Regions from separate parts of the Homo sapiens genome. Here region 2 is linked to region 1. The links are contacts of gene promoters, found by promoter capture Hi-C in blood cells and fetal thymus (Javierre and others, 2016). All regions are on one chromosome and are shown on one strand. Each heading gives the region's core, a stretch centred on a gene start or on the middle of the fragment in contact. The rest is flanking DNA. Distances are from core to core; before and after follow the strand shown. Region 1 holds the start of KCTD18 (potassium channel tetramerization domain containing 18). Region 2 holds the start of CYP20A1 (cytochrome P450 family 20 subfamily A member 1).

Region 1 (5,219 bases), core at 120-2,619:
CTCATTCTGACTCCTAGCCCTCAACTTAAATGTCCACTCATTTCCTCGCACCTAGTTATCACTCTCTGTCACCACTTTGCTTAGTGTCTGTTTCTCCCACTTGAACAAGGGCAGGCAAACTATGGCCCATGGACCACCATTTGTTTTTGTCTGGCCCATGATCTAAGAATGGCTTGTACATATTTAAGTGTTTGAAAAAGCTGCATTTTTAAAAGAATATTTTTTGACACATGAAAATTATGTGAAATTGGAATTTCAGTGTCCATAAAGTTGGAACTAGCAATGCTCATTTGTTCAGGTTTTGCCTATGCCTTCTTTTAGACTACAACTGCTGAGTTGAGTAGTTGTGCATGGCCCACAAAGCCTAAAATATTTACAGAACAAGTTTTCTGCATGTTGTACTGGAAAGTAAGGTTGAACGCCCATTATTTGTCTCTTCCAGTCCTTTACTCTCAGTGCTTGCTCCATAGCTAGTGCTTAATAATTACAGGTTGAACAAACCTTCCCTCTCTCCTAAGACTGTTAATATCTAAGGGGATAGGTTGACTTACCTCTCTTTGGCTTATTCTCTTCTAAGAGCCAGTCAGGGAAATTTGGAACCAAATATTTTTGATTTTGGGGAAGCACCTTGAAAACAGGACTGTTATATTTCTCTTGAAATATCTAGCACAGTACCTTGCACAAGGTAAGATGGTGCTAGAAACTGGAAGAACTGTTTTAGGGTTATCGTTAACAGGAAATTAAGTAGTGCATGCAAAGCACTTAGCACAGTGTCAGGTGTACAAAAGTGTTGAATAAATGTTTGCTCTCGCCTCAATTTTCCTTGCTATAATGGGAAATAAATATCACCCTTTATATCACTGTCACACAGACTAAACAAGAATGCTGTGTGTGAAAAAGCTTTGTAAGCTGCAGACACTATCCAGATAGACTTATCCAAGTGCAATATATTAACACACGTTGGCACTGAGCAGCCCTGTTTGGAGGGATGGGCACTGACCTGGGGGTGAGAACACTTAACATCCTAATTCTTGCCACTTATTAAGTGACCTTGGACAATCGCAACTTCTGCGGCTGTTTCTTCTCTTCACCTGTAAAACCAGCCTCTGAACACACAAGACCGTCCCTTGGGGTTCAGCCCTGGCCTTCTCTACCGTGTGTTTCCCTTACCTCCGGGATGGAAGACCCACCCGACTCCGAGGCGGCCCACTGGGGCGAGACGAATCTGGGGGCGGGGCGTGGCGTGGCGTGGCGTGCCCGGGACGTGGCCTCCCTCCCTCCCTGAGCCGCTGCCTCAGAGCCGGGCCGCACGGGGGCGCCGCTGGGGCCGCTCTGCTCCCGAGTTGCCGAGCAGCTGAGAAGGCGTTCACTTCCGCGTCCGCCCCGCGGCGTCCGGCGGCCGCGCCGAGGGTCTGGCGGGCCGCAGGTCAGTCTGGGAAGCTGCCGACCCGCCCCACCCCCCCGGTGCGGAAGAGCCGGGCGCGGGATGGGCCGCGGGCCCGGAAGGCGGCGGGGCGCCCTGAGGAAGGGCACGGGCCGCGCTGGTAACGCGCGCGCCCCGGGCTGCAGGCTCGGGCTTCGGGCCGATTTGGGGTCTCCAGGCCGCGGAAGACCGTGGCGGGGCTTTCTGGCTCCCCAGCTCCTCCCGGCTCTTCCCGCTTCGGAAGAGGAGTGTGAGCCCCTTGAGCGATGTTTTTCAAAGTGGGGTTCGCGGGCAGATCCCGACCCCTCCTCAGACTTTCTGAGGAACTGTGTGCTGTGGCCGGAGTGTCTTCGTTTTCCCAAGCGTCCCTGATGGTTTTGATGCAGGTGATCATAGGAATGCACTCTGGGGGACATTGTCCCCGAGGGCTGGACACTTTCCACATAGCAGGGAGCCTAACTGGGTGCTTTTGAGGATGGGGCCTGCGGAGTGCCCCCCTGGTGTGGCCTTGGAATGATGATGTTCCTATCCTTAGGAGAGACTGCCTGGGGTTGGGGTAGGAGGAGTAGCTCTTAAATCCTCGGGATCGGGGTGCTGCTGTGTTATCGTAGCCAAGTCTTGAGATGGACAGATGCTTAGAGAGTGAAAGGGCTGGGTCAGGATCCATAGGGGTGAAACAGTGCTGGAGGAGGCGGTGTGGGGTGAAGCAGGAAGAACTTGGGGTTCGTCCTGCCGTTCTGGATTGGGGCTGGCTCCACAACCTACTAGCAGTCAGTCCTTGTGTGGCCCCTGTACACATCACTCTTTTTTTTTACCCCAATGGCCTCATCTGTCAACAGGGACAGTAATTCCCATCCAATAGAGTTTTTGTGTGAATTAGGTAAAGTGTGTCAAGTGTCTCTTACAATGGCTGGCACATAATAAGCATTCAGTAAATGGGAGTTATTAAGAGTGACACAGGCCCTGGCTTCCTTGGCCTACAGACCAAAAAGTAGGGATTAAACAAGTGGGGTAAAAAGTGGACAGACACACAGTATATTTGTAGAATTGTGCAAGGATTCTAACTTGGGGGGCAGAAGGATACGTGGGACGGTCATGCAAGAAATTAGGTTTGCTGAAGGCCTTGAAGAATAGATAGGATTCCAGGGAGCCAGTAATGAGGCAGAGGGAACAAGTTCCATCCCATGCCTCAGAGGTGGCTCTCACACATGGATCTTTGGAGTGCTGCTCCCAGGACTTCTAGGCAGTGCGAGATGTCACATCCATAAGTGGTTTTGGAAGGCTGGACCTTTGGCCCATAATGGTTTCTGTTGCTGACCGTATTCTACACACATGGTCTTCCTCAGATTTTAATGGTCTCCTTCCATTTTATTGGAGACTAGCTGGCATCTACAAAACGATCTTAGTTGTTCACTGAGTAAAAGTGAATTGACATGGATGTAGTTGAGCCTTTTGGCAGCCATTTTCAACTTGCTATGAAATGTGTGGATACTGCAGATTCTCAATAATTGGGAGTACCTTTTTCATCACAGTATTGTTTTAGGTGGGAAAACACCACAGTGTCACTTGTGGTTCTGTGATCTCCAGAATGGATTAAAAAAATCCAACCCTTAAACCTTCCCTGGGCCTGGTGCAGTGGCTCACGCCTGTAATCTCAGCACTTTGGGAGGCCGAGGTGGGTGGATCACCTGAGGTCAGGAGTTGGAGACCAGACTGCCCAATATGGTGAAACGCCGTCTCTACTAAAATTACAAGAATTAGCCCGGCATGATGGTGTATACCTGTGGTCCCAGCTACTCAGGAGGCTGAGGCAGGAGAATTGCTTGAACCCGGGAGTGAGCCGAGATGGCGCCACTGTACTCCACCCTGGGCTACAGAGCGAGACTCCATCTCAAAAAACAAACAAGCAAACAAACAAAAACCCCCCAAAACTTCCCTAAAGCTTCATCCATTTCACAGTGAAGAAGCTGGATGATTTGGAGGTGTTATTTGTAGTTCTAGACTGGCCTGGCTACTGGTCTACATAGAATTCTGATCTCAGGCTGGGCGTGGTGGCTCATGCCTGTATACTCAGCACTTCGGAAGGCCAAGACAGGAGGATTGCTTGAGCCCAGGAGTTCAAGACTAGCCTGGGCAACACAGCGAGACCCTGTCTCATTTTTTAAAAATTTAAAAAAATTAAAAGAAGAATTATAATCTCAGTTGATAAATTATATATTCCTTAGTTACCTAACTTAAGAATTATAGTTATCATTGTTAATAATTCCTGCTCCTTTATTTCCTTACATTTCCAGAGTCAATATCAAGTCCCTCAGTAGACACCTTATGGTTAAATTTATATCATTATGCATAATATTTATAATTTATTGAATAGTTACCATGAGCTAGATTCTGCTCTTTTGCTGTTTTATATATTCTTTTAATTATTCCTCTTATAGTCCTTTGAGCTGGGCATCATCACTGCCTCCATTTTATGGAAGAGGAAGATAAGTAATTTGCCCAAGATCCTAGAGCTGGTGAGGGGAAGAGCCTAGCAGCTCAATTCCATGCTGTCCACTGATCTCTGCAGTCTAGAGGCTCCCTCAGACTTATCATGGTTAAAAAGATATGTGAATACTGAAGATCATAAGCAGGCCTCTCCTTTGTTTGCTGTGTGACAGAGAGTGCATTACCATGTTTAAACAGTCATTTCAACAGCAATGATTGGGTTGTTAGTCGTTTATTATCTTTTACAAATCCTCTTAGCCAACATTTTCCAACTTCTTAGCATATCTCGAAATTCTCTTATATTATATAAAATCCTTCAATTCAATAATGCCAGTACTGAGGAATTTATTTTCAGTCATGTTAAAGTATATTTATTATATTATCTATTTAGTGTCTTGTTGGAAATGGCGGGGATGACTGTCCTTTGTTTTACAGAGGGAGACCAAGACATCATTGTTTTGAAGTTTCTGAAAGTGTTGGGCGGCAAAAATTCAGGTGCCTGGGGGAGAAATGGAAGGCCACAAGGCAGAAGAAGAGGTGCTAGATGTTCTCCGACTGAACGTGGGTGGCTGTATTTACACAGCCCGGCGGGAGTCCTTGTGCCGCTTCAAGGACTCCATGTTGGCATCTATGTTCAGTGGTCGCTTTCCTCTAAAAACAGATGAGTCAGGTAAATGTCTAAAGTCTGAAAGCATGATCTGAATATTTATTAACACCAGTTTAAGTTCCCTTTGATTTTCTTAATTACAGCGAAATGTACTAGATGACTATACTAATTACTGAGATCATTAGGACTCTATGGAGATTCATTAAGTACGTGGAGAAATTAAATACTACTTCTGAAAATCTGTGATAATGTTAAAAGTTGACAAAGAAGTAAGAGTTCATAAAGGCTGGTCATAACCTAATTATGGGGATTAACTGTATTTTGAAACTTGTTACTTTCATGCAGCTTTGGGTGATGATATTGATGCTGATTAAATATATTTGCTTCTCTCTGTGTTCTTCAAATTGGAAAATGTTTTGTCTGGAGAAAGCAGCTGCCCTCCTTATTGCTAACAGAGCAGCCATCGTCATTGTAGAATTAGTGTTGGGCTCGCCACCTAGCCTAGCTGTGTAGTCTTGCTGTGTGTCCAATGTGCACGGCTGAGAAAAAGTCTGTGCAGTGATACCGTCAGAGGCAAAGGGGCAGCGGACTGAAAACTGGGTTTCAGAACTGTAAATCACACAGGTAGGGTTCTGGGGCTGCTCTCTGCTTCCAGTGCTCTGGTACTCACTGAACCTGCTACTGTTTGTAAAGAAAGTTCAT
Region 2 (5,513 bases), core at 827-3,326, 2.7 Mb before region 1:
TCCACTGGGAAATCCCATTGGCACTATCTTCACAATTGACTAGTTCTCATTATCTGTGCCACTACTACCATGATCCAAGCTGAAATGATAATATCCTCCTAATTACTTGGCTTGCTTCCATCCTTACCTGGAGACCCATGTCAATTCATGACTTAGCAACCACAATGATTCTTTTAAAATTTATCTAATAAAATTAAATTTGAATTCTATCCAATTTCAAATGGCATTCATCTGCTGAAATCCTCCAGTGGCACACAGCAAAAGTCCATTAAAAAAGCCTTACAAGTCATTTAAAATTTGTCCTTCACTCCCATCTTTCTGACTTTCTCTCCTCTGGTATCTTCCTCATTTACTACACTCTAACCACACTGGTCCCCTTGCTTTCCAGGAACACACCAGGCGTGTCTCCCTCTGAAGGTTTGCATTTGCTGCTCCCTCGACCCAGAATGCTCTTTCTCAGAATGGCTTGCACCTTCACCTTCTTCGCGTTTCTACTCAAATGTCTCCGTATCTCCTGGCCATCCTACTTTAAAATAACAATCTACCTATCCCCAACTTTATTTCTACCCACAATCCTATGTTATTTGTTTCTATTGTCTGTTCCCCTTCTCTAGGAAATAAATTCCAAGAGTCAGGAATTTTCTGTCCGGTTTGTTTCACGGCTGGATTCCCAGCACGTGGAACCATATCTGGCACATAGCTAGTGCTAAGAATAAACAGTGTGCTTCTATGAGCTGATCAAAGAAGAGTATCATTTTAAAATCACCAAAAATTCAAGAACCACTAAAATTGTTTAGTTTCTCAGAAAATAAGATTTCAGGAAGTCCCTGATTGTGTAGTTGCAAGATTCTAGTCTAATCCATTTACCTGCTCGGAAAAGAACATTTAAGAAGGTGTATGGTCAATTCCAGCAGTTCAGCTACTTTTCAACTTTCACTGTAAAACCACCACCTTGCTTTGTAGAACAGGTGTTTTTTGTTTGTTTGTTTGTTTGTTTTGAGATAAGAGTCTGGCTCTGTCGCCAGGCTGCAGTGCAGTGGTGCGATCTTGGCTCACTGCAAGCTCCGCCTCCCAGGTTCAAGCGATTCTCCTGCCTCAGCCTCCTGAGTAGCTGGGATTACAGGCGCCCGCCACCACAGCCAGCTAATGTTTGTATTTTTAGTAGAGACGGTGTGTCACCATGTTGGCCAGGATGGTCTCGATATCCTGACCTCGTGATCCGCCCGCCTCAGCCTCCCAAAGTGTGTAGAACAGGTTTTAAAGACGGTCCTCAGTCATCAACACTTTTGTTTTCAGACCCTCCCTCTCTCGCTGACGGAGGCAAGTGGAGAGAGGAGGACCGGAGGCTCGCAGAGGCGTCAGCGGCAGAGGAAACCTCGCACCCGAACCCGCAGCGCGGCGCTCTCCCCAAAGAAGCATTTGCCTGGAGCCCCTAAGAGGAGCAAGACCTGGACCTCGAGCACTTTGGATTCCAGTCAGGATAGATCGATGGACAGATGGAAAAGAGGAATACACAAGTGCTGGGAGAATCCTCAAGAAAGGAGAAAGGAGTGGCGCGCCCAGGAGTCTCGTCCTGACACACTGGGAAATGAAATTTGGGTTTGGCGAGTTATGGCCAAAAAGCTGCCCAAAGTACTTGAGAGCCGCCTTGGAGAGTGGCGCGGGGTGCCTGGCAAGGTGAGACCGGCCTGCGGGGGCGCGGGCTTTTCCTCAGCAGCTCTACGCCCGCCTGGCCCGGCGCCTGAGGGGTAGCGACGCAGCCCACGTCGCTCTCAGAGCTTGCCGGGAGGGGCGTCACGTGACTCCGGGTGCGGTCCCCGCGCTGAAGCTCTGGAGCGAACCCGAACCCTCCTCTCAGGCCCGCCCCCTGCGGCCCGCAGCGGGCAGGTTGGCCTGGATGCCGGCGACAGAGAGACTGGGGCGGCGCCCGGGGCCCCAGAGAGCCAAGACGGCGCTCACCGGATAGAGGTAGAGCACGGCTCCCACCAACGCCAGCAAGAAGGTAACGGCGAAGATCGCGAAGTCCAACATGGTTCTGCCGCCCAGGGAGCCACGTCTCGGATCGGCCGCTCCAGCAGCAGCGCCTCAGCCTGGCCCAATTTAAGGCATAGCGTGTGGGCGGGGGCACCCCGCGGGACCCGGAAACCAACGGGCCGCTGGGGGCGTGACCGAGGCCTGCGGCCGGCGCCAGAGGAAAGAGCAATGGATCGCCGAGGAGCCGGGGCGCGGGTTCCTGAGCGCAGCAGGCCGAGGCTGAGGCCGCCTAGCGCCAGCCTCCACCGCAAGGCGGGGATTTCGGTGCACACGATTTCAGACAGAATATGCCCGCGACTTCGGACCGGGTTGCTGGCGAAAGCAGAGCCCAGCTTTCTGAGAAAAGTTAGGAGTTAGTAGTGCTCTGTCCGCCCAACAGTTTTCGCAATGGATTCAGAATTAAAACCTCTAAACCGATGATTTTCGAAGAGTGGTCCCGGTACCAGCTGCATCAACGTCGCCCGGGAGCTCGTTAGAGATTCAGATTATCGATGCCGGGCGCGGTGGCTCCACCTGTAATCCCAGCACCTTGGGAGGCTGAAGCGGGAGGATCGCTTGAGCCCAGGAGTTTGAGACCAGCGTGGGCAACATAGTGAGACCCCAGTCTCTACAAAAAAAAAAAAAAAAAAAAAAAAAAAATTAGCCTACAGTGGTGGCGCTTGCCTGTGGCCCCAGCTGCTCCGGAGGCTGAGGCTGGAGGATCACTTTAGCCGGGGAGGCAGAGGCTACAGTGAGCCGAGATGGCACGACTGCACTCCAGCCTGGGCGACAGGGCGAGACCCTGTCTCAAAAACAAAACAAAACAAAACAAAAGGAAAACAAAATAAAAAGATTCTCGATCCCAAACTAGACCTACTGAATCAAACACTCGGGGTGGGCAGGGGTAGGGGGCGCGTACAACAATCTGTTTGAACAGAGCCCTCCCGGGGACACTGTTACACACTTAAATTTGAGTGAAAACCACCACTGATCTAAGCGGGACAGGGAAGTGTCTGGGAGTAAAACAAGAGTAGATACGCCTTGTTTCGCAGAATTTCTGTCTGAAGTACTAGTAAATGTGATTCTTTGACACTTTCTGGTGAGCGGAGGCTGCACACTGTTCAGGTTTCCTTGCTCTGTTAACTCTGACTTTCGGTAAATTGCTTCAGTTTTCTAAGCTTCCATTTCCTTCTATGTAAAAAAGTGAAAATAATACCACATGGAGTTGCCTGTAGGTTAAATTACATATTTTATGAAAATCACTTAGCACAGCTCCTGGCAAAACCGAATAAGTGCTATCTACGTCAGCATTTGGCGTTTGTTGCCCTGGGCATAAAATACCCTAGGACCCCTCTTTCTATTTCGCCTGGCTCAGAAGTTTTGACGTGGCTACTGAAATACAAGACAAGGCCTGCTACTTACTAGTGCTGCTTTTAGTGAAAGTGTGCTAAAAGTATTTATAGATTTTATAGCTTTAATAATATAAAATGTCAAGAACAGGCAGCAATTTGGCAAGAGAAATTCCAGATTGCATTTTACAGCTTCTATGATAAATGACTGTTACATAAGCAGGAAACATACCTCATTGAAAATGGCAACTCTTTTGGCATCTATAGCAAATATAATGAAACATGCTGTTTAATATTTCACTTGGCAGAAATTGTATTTTTAAGTCTTTCTCTGCATATAAATGTGCTTTAAACTGTCGTATGTTCAAAGTTCATTTTTAAGTCTCTTGTTCAGAATTTTAAAGATATTTCTTGTCAAACTGATGTTCCCAATAGGTTTTCAAAACAGTAAATGTAAGAGTTTTTTGTTTGTTTGTTTTGTTTGTTTGTTTTTGAGACGTAGTCTCCCTCTGTAGCCCAGGCTAGAGTGCAGTGACGGGATCTCGGCTCACTGCAACCTCCGCCTCCCAGGTTCAAGCAATTCTCCTGCCTCACCCTCCCGAGTAGCTGGGATTACAGGCACGCGCCACCATGCCCAGCTAATTTTTGTATTTTTAGTAGAGATGGGTTTCACCATGTTGGCCAGGCTGGTCTTTAACTCCTGACCTCGTGATTCGCCCCTCTGGGCCTCCCAAAGTGCTGAGATTACAAGCGTGAACCACCCCGCCCGGCCAAACATAAGAGTTTTAACTGCATAAGGTAGCCATATAACCGTAATCTTAGGTACCGTAATCTTAGGTACCAATCCTTCAAGATATCTAGAATTCTCTTTTAGTCCTAAATTGACCTACATCCTGAGACTCTCTGAACTTTGAGGGCTGTAAAAAAGAGACAAAAATTCCAGAAATTGTCAGGGCACCATATTTTATAGTGTGAGTCTCTAAACTAGACATCTACCTCCTCTTCCTGTGTTCCTAAAACGTTTTGCCCAGATACTCCCTAAAAGCATATATAAATAATATATATATAATATATATATACACATACACACATATATATCTTTTCACACATTTTTTGTATTGACATCTAAAATTTTTATCTTGACTTTAAAGGATTAAATTTCTGTCATATTATAAATATTCACGTTTTGAAATTGTTACAGCTCTCTTTTAAGTGTATGAAAAGGAATGTAAATATAATAGTGATGTGATAACTATAAGACTTTTTTTAAAAACACACAAACTTGGCCAGGTACGGTGGCTCCACCTGTATTCCCAGCACTTTGGGAGGCGGAGGCGGTCAGATCACTTGAGGTCAGGACTTCAAGATCAGCCTGGTCAACATGGGGAAACCCCGCCTCTACTAAAATTACAAAAATTAGCTGGGTGTGGTGGCATGCGCCTGTAATCCCAGCTTCTCAGGAGGCTGAGGCAGGAGAATCACTTGAACCCGGGAGGCAGAAGTTGCAGTGAGCCAAAATGGCGCCACTGCACTCCAGCCTGGACAAAAACAAAACCCAAAACAAAACAAAACAAAACAAAAAACCCATACACTTTTTGTGAACAACTGGAAATTTTCCATGGTTCCTTTTTCTGAACTTATTTTTATTGCACTTATCCGACAGAATTTTATTCTAATGAAATTATTTTTATCCTTGAAAGTAATTTTCTTCATCACCTGTCATACTTCTTCTCTTCAACATGTACTCATGTTGAATTAAAAAATAGTTTTTGGGGCCAGGCGTGGTGGCTCATGCCTGTAATCTCAGCACTTTGGGAGGCCGAGGCGGGCAGATCACGAGGTCAGGAGATCGAGACCATCCTGGCTAACATGGTGAAACCCTGTCTCTACTAAAAATACAAAAAAGAATTAGCTGGGCGTGGTGGTGGCGCCTGTAGTCCCAGCAACTCAGGAGGCTGAAGCAGGAGAATGGCATGAACCCGGGAGGTGGAGCTTGCAGTGAGCTGAGATCGTGCCACTGCACTCCAGGCTGGGCGACAGAGCGAGACTCCGTCTCTAAAAAAAAAAAATAGTTTTTGGGCCGCACACAATGGCTCACACCTATAATCCCAGGACTCTGGGAGACTCAGAAGTTCACTTGAGCCCAGGAGT

Evidence for each region. The method cuts DNA at HindIII sites, captures the fragments that hold promoters and counts their contacts. A CHiCAGO score of 5 or more calls a contact.
Region 2: a contact is called between the fragment with the promoter of CYP20A1 here and the fragment with the promoter of KCTD18 in region 1, in 2 of 17 cell types (naive B cells and total B cells). The highest score is 7.2, in naive B cells.

What each region holds. Positions count from the first base shown.
Region 1 is chr2:200,506,218-200,511,436 of GRCh38, reverse strand. KCTD18 (potassium channel tetramerization domain containing 18) reads left to right here and starts at 1,369. Exons shown (of 7, transcript NM_152387.4): 1 at 1,369-1,809; 2 at 4,346-4,580. The coding sequence starts at 4,421. RefSeq lists a silencer at 1,137-1,596. The HindIII fragment of the contact is 2,465 bases long and covers 903-3,367 here.
Region 2 is chr2:203,235,581-203,241,093 of GRCh38, reverse strand. It overlaps CYP20A1 (cytochrome P450 family 20 subfamily A member 1), which reads right to left and starts at 2,076. Exons shown (of 13, transcript NM_177538.3): 1 at 1,960-2,076. The coding sequence starts at 2,031. RefSeq lists enhancers at 1,356-1,645, 1,469-2,040, 2,326-2,375 and a silencer at 2,046-2,255. The HindIII fragment of the contact is 4,599 bases long and covers 1-3,193 here.